Regions from separate parts of the Homo sapiens genome. Here region 1 is linked to region 2. The links are contacts of gene promoters, found by promoter capture Hi-C in blood cells and fetal thymus (Javierre and others, 2016). All regions are on one chromosome and are shown on one strand. Each heading gives the region's core, a stretch centred on a gene start or on the middle of the fragment in contact. The rest is flanking DNA. Distances are from core to core; before and after follow the strand shown.

The links. Contacts are between HindIII fragments. The CHiCAGO score rates a contact against its expected background, and 5 or more counts as called.
Region 1: the fragment with the promoter of GOLGA7B here is called in contact with the fragment with the promoter of SFRP5 in region 2 in 14 of 17 cell types (naive CD8 T cells, total CD8 T cells, non-activated CD4 T cells and 11 more); the score reaches 22.9 in naive CD8 T cells.

The regions. Positions count from the first base shown.
Region 1 is chr10:97,848,433-97,851,132 of GRCh38, reverse strand. GOLGA7B (golgin A7 family member B) reads right to left here and starts at 1,290. Exons shown (of 5, transcript NM_001010917.3): 1 at 818-1,290. The coding sequence starts at 829. GOLGA7B-DT (GOLGA7B divergent transcript) reads left to right here and starts at 1,335. Exons shown (of 3, transcript NR_108035.1): 1 at 1,335-1,467. The HindIII fragment of the contact is 7,033 bases long and covers 419-2,700 here.
Region 2 is chr10:97,770,700-97,773,399 of GRCh38, reverse strand. SFRP5 (secreted frizzled related protein 5) reads left to right here and starts at 1,401. Exons shown (of 3, transcript NM_003015.3): 1 at 1,401-2,095. The coding sequence starts at 1,567. The HindIII fragment of the contact is 8,141 bases long and covers 741-2,700 here.

The sequences.
Region 1 (2,700 bases), core at 41-2,540, 78 kb before region 2:
CCACACATCACCTTTATCATGTATAAAGTGGGAACATAAAGAGCCCAATCTCCCTCCTGAAATGAGGGGGGAAAGGGCAATCCCTAGGGGTAGAGGGGGGAATCCTCGACCTCAAGCATTATACCAAGATTCTGCCCTTAGCTAACAGGCCCCGTGGTTCAGCCTTCAAGTGCTTGAAGGTGACACACCTATCAGTGCACCTTGAAGAAGGCAGAAACTCCCATCAGATGGAGGGGAAATCTGGACACCCTGGGACAAAAAAAAAAAAAAAACTCGAATGGGGTAAAAAAGCAAGAAGGGTGATATGCAAAAGTGGAGACCAACCATTTGGGTTCTCAGCCTGAGGATGTCTTTGTCCCCTCCCTCCCGCAAAGGAAATGCGGATGTAGAGGTAAGTCTGTCATCCCTTAGCCAAGCTTTTGGGTTCAGAAGCTGACTGCATAGCAACAGCGGACAGCCGCCTTCCCTCCCCTCACACACGCACACACACGCGTCTCCAACCCTCTAGGAAAGCGGTTTCAGGACTTGTGAAGTCCAGGGAAGGGGAAACCCCAGCCTGGGGCCCTGAAGCAACCCTGGCGCTAATGCCAACAAGTGTCGCGGACAGCTTGGGGGCTCAGGTGGGGCGAGGGGAAGATTGACACGCAAGGGGGAGATGAGCCCTCACTAAGCCCCTACCTCCTCCCTCCAGACCTGACCTGGGGAATCACCCCATCCCACCCCCAACTCCCGCCTCCCACTCCTGCCCAGCCCACCCCTAGGGCATTTGGTCCCGCGGCAATCGGGCACTGCCTGCGGGTGGGGCGCTCGCCCCTACCTCGGTGGCCATGATCCGGGGGCGCTCGGAGGCTGTCGCGGGGCCGGGCGAGGGGGGTCTCCGCGGTGCTGACCCCGGGAGCAGGTGGGCGGCGGCGGTGGCGGCGAGCTGGGGCCCGGGGCGCTGTCCGCAGTGCTGATGCGGGCGCCGCGGGCCCGGGCTCAGGTGGGCCGGGGGCGGGCGGGCGGCTGGGTCCAGGCAAGGGGCGCGGCGCTGTCCGCTGTGCTGAGGCAGGCGCCGGGCCCGGGAGGCGAGGCCGCGCCCGAGGCTCCTCACGGCCCGATCGCCCGCTGCCGCGGCTCCTGCAGGCAACGGCCGGGTTTAGCTTTGGCGGCGGCGGCGGCGGGGATGGGGGCGGCCGGGGGAGGAGGGGCCAGGAGCCGCCGCTGGCCGGGAGGGGGAAGCCGCGGCCCCCAGACTCCGGCGCCGCCGGAGAGGAGCCCCGCCCGGGCCACAGGCTCGGCTACCGCCCCGCGCGAGGCCCCGCCTCCCCTTCCTGCCCTCCCCCTCGTGAGAGCCCCGGAGCTCTGCGCTCGCTTCCGTGGCCCCCGGGACATCCAGCCTGAAGGACAGTGGGGCAGGAATTTTTCCGGGGCAAGACGCTTCAGCCTGCAAGGCTGACCGCTCCCGAGCCGCTCGCAGGCCCGCAGGTGAGGCCTCTCTACCTTTCCAGCCACCCCCAGTGCCCCGGCTCTACCCCTCCCTCGCCCCGCCCCCAGCTTCCTCTTTAGAATAATTTCTTTTCTTTCTCTCCCTTTTCCTCTCTGTGTGCCCCCCCCCCATATACACACAGTCAGGCTTGCACGGACGGCCCCTCTTTTCCCCTCTCCTTTGCACTTCCTGGAACCCCACTAGCTAGACAAAGATCCTGCCGACCGCAGAGAATCATTTCCTTTCTTTAAATACGTGCCCACATTTCGTTCTCAGCCATAGCCTGGGGTCCCTTCTTTCAGGCAGCTCCAGAATTGAAGCCAGTCTCTCCTTGCTGCTCTTCCTGGACCTGGTCCCCACCCTTTACTCTTCCCTCTCTCCTCTGCAACCCGAGTTTACATACACGCACCACCACTACCACCACCACTCAAAAACCACAAGCAGATGGTGCCAAACCGGTATGCTCACTCTCCAAGGATGGCAGGTCTGGCTCTGGTGCCACCTTCGCACTTTTGACATCATAAATTCCAACTAAATGATCTATTTGTTTAATAAAAAGGAGACCAGGTGCAGTGGCTCACACCTGTAATCCCAACACTTTGGGAGGCTGAGGTGGGAGGATTGCTTGAGCCCAGGAGTTCAAGACCAGCCTGGGCAAGACCCTGTCTGCACAAAAAATGAAAACATTAGCCGGGCGTTGTGATGTGTGCCTGTGGTCCCAGCTACTCAGAAGGCTAAGGCAGGAGAATCACTTGAATCCAAGAGTTCAAGGCTGCAGCTAGCCATGATTGTGCCACTGTACTCCAGCCTGGGCAATAGAGCAAGAGCCTGTCTCTTAAAAAAATAAAAATAAGGCCGGAAGCAGTGGCTCATACCTGTAATCCCAGCACTTTGGGAGGCCGAGACGGGTGGATCACCTGAGGGCAGAAGTTCAAGACCAGCCTGGCCAACATGCTGAAACCCCATCTCCACCAAAAATACAAAAAAAAATTAGCCAGGCATGGTGGCACCCGCCTGTAGTCCCAGGTACTCAGGAGGCTGAAGCAGGAGAATTGCTTGAACCCGGGAGGCAAAGGTTACAGTGAACTGAGATCACACCATTGCACTCCAGCCTGGGCGACAAGAGCGAAACTCTGTCTCAAAAAATAAATAAATAAATAAATAAATAAAATAGACATAAAAAAAAGGAAACACCAACACAAGTGCCTTTTTACATACCCATAATACCCCTT
Region 2 (2,700 bases), core at 152-2,651:
TGCCCAGTACTCCTGCCTTCCAGCAGAGCCAGCCCCCAGCTCCCCACGCCCTCCTAGGAGACACCTCCCCAAGGTACCCTCCCCACCAAAGACTGGGAGGTCAGGTGTCAGGCTAGGCTCTCAGGAAGGAATTCCCCTCCCTTCAAGCCTCCAGTCCAAATTCCTCTCAAGGGAGAGCCAATGAAAGGCAGGACTCAGACAGGAGAGAAAGACACCAAGCATGGGGCTCCTGAAGGTCCCCTCCCCTCTGATGCTTGCCTGGGTGCCCTGCTCAGACACACCATCAATTCCCCCTCTTCCCACTGTGTTCCCTACCATGGGTTGGAAGTTATCTTACCACAGAGTGGTTAAGCCCTGGCCTTTGTAGCCCAACATCTGGATTCAAATCCTAGCTCCTTCACATATGAGCTGTGTGGCCAAGGGCCAGTTACTCCACTTCTCTGAACTCCCTATCCCCTTGGTCATTAGGCCTACAGACTCAGAATCCAGGCCTCCTGGTTGTTTCTGGGCTCTGACTCTCGAAAAAGACTATCTGGGTTCAAATCCCAGCTCTAATCTGTGCTTAACCTCTCTGCCGCAGGATCTTTATCTGTAAGGTGGGGACAATAATAGTACCTACCCACCATCTAGCCTTATTGTGAGAATTAGCTGAGGGAGTTTATGCAATGTGCTCAGATCAGACTTGGCACACAATTAGCACCCACTAAGTATTGGCTATCATTAGCAATAGCTGATAAGCTTGGAACGTACCTTGCACCGCACCTTGCACCGCACCTTGCACCTTGCACCGTCCCTGGCAGGTAGTAAGAGCTCACTAAATAGAAGCTATGATTACCTTCACCCCCACTAGACTATCCTGGCCCTGGAGGTGGGTTCTGGGTCATATCCATCTTTGATTCCCCAGCAGCCAGCATGGGGCCTGGCACCAAGCTCAATGAAGACCTGCCAGGAGGACCAGAAGATCCAGGGTGTGGGGTGGCACGAGCCTCCCACCAGGGAGAAGAGGAACCGAGGTGTCGGGGAAGAGAAAACAGAGCAGAGGGAGAAAAGCCAAGGCAGAGAGATAAGCAAGTGAAGTGAGTGAGAAAAGGAACAGGAGAGGCTGTGGCGGAGAGAGATAAGGAGGAAGGATGGAGAAGGCGAGGGTCGAGGAAAATGCCCAGGGAGGCAGGGAGCCCTGGGGAGAAACGCTGGGCGAGGCCAGGGCTGCGGCAGGGGAGCCGAGCCGGGAGAGGGGCGCAAGACCTGGCGCTGGGCGGGACGCTCGGGCAGGGTGCGGGAGGGGCTGAGGGCCGCCCCCACTGCCTCCCCGCCTTGGAGCTGGGGCCAGGCGGCCGGAGATTGGCTGGGGCGCACGGCGAGGCCCGGGCTGGAGCCCCGAGGTGGGAGGCGCCAGGATCAGTCGGGGCGCCCGCAGCGCAGGCTGCCACCCACCTGGGCGACCTCCGCGGCGGCGGCGGCGGCGGCTGGGTAGAGTCAGGGCCGGGGGCGCACGCCGGAACACCTGGGCCGCCGGGCACCGAGCGTCGGGGGGCTGCGCGGCGCGCACCTGGAGAGGGCGCAGCCATGCGGGCGGCGGCGGCGGGGGGGGGCGTGCGGACGGCCGCGCTGGCGCTGCTGCTGGGGGCGCTGCACTGGGCGCCGGCGCGCTGCGAGGAGTACGACTACTATGGCTGGCAGGCCGAGCCGCTGCACGGCCGCTCCTACTCCAAGCCGCCGCAGTGCCTTGACATCCCTGCCGACCTGCCGCTCTGCCACACGGTGGGCTACAAGCGCATGCGGCTGCCCAACCTGCTGGAGCACGAGAGCCTGGCCGAAGTGAAGCAGCAGGCGAGCAGCTGGCTGCCGCTGCTGGCCAAGCGCTGCCACTCGGATACGCAGGTCTTCCTGTGCTCGCTCTTTGCGCCCGTCTGTCTCGACCGGCCCATCTACCCGTGCCGCTCGCTGTGCGAGGCCGTGCGCGCCGGCTGCGCGCCGCTCATGGAGGCCTACGGCTTCCCCTGGCCTGAGATGCTGCACTGCCACAAGTTCCCCCTGGACAACGACCTCTGCATCGCCGTGCAGTTCGGGCACCTGCCCGCCACCGCGCCTCCAGGTAGCGCCGCCGCCGCCGTCCCCGCGCGCTCCGACGGCCCTGCAGCTCCCCTAGCACAGCTCTGCGAACCCCCCAAGAGGTGCAGCTCCCCCCCTCCGCCCACACACACACACACACGCTGTCCTAGCTCAGCCCAGCGTCCCCGGAATTATCCCCCGCAGCCTTCCCGCCTTCCCACCTCCCCAGGGAGTGGCAGCATAGTGCCTCCCGGCGGCTCCAGACCTTCCCTCTGGCTCTCGTTCCCTGGAAACCCCTGGCACCCCTCTCAGTACCCATCCAACCAAGCTGCTGAGAATCCCCCAATGCCGTCCCCCCAATCCTGGGACGTCCTGATAAATGCCTTATGACCCCTCTCAGCCCAAGAATGCCTGGGGTCGTTAAACAATGCCTTTCACCTGGATCCCGAGGCACCAAAGCAAGCATCATCCCCACTCCGTGTTGGGACCTTGGGAAGAGAGGAGAGGTGAGGGAAGGGATGTGGAGAAAGACTGGGGACTAAGAATGTTCTGGACTATGATCTGCGTCCCCGTTTTCTGTACCTGGAACCCTAAGATCTCCACCCTCTTCCCCAGTTCCCCTGGCTGGGAGTCATTCGGGTAAGGCTC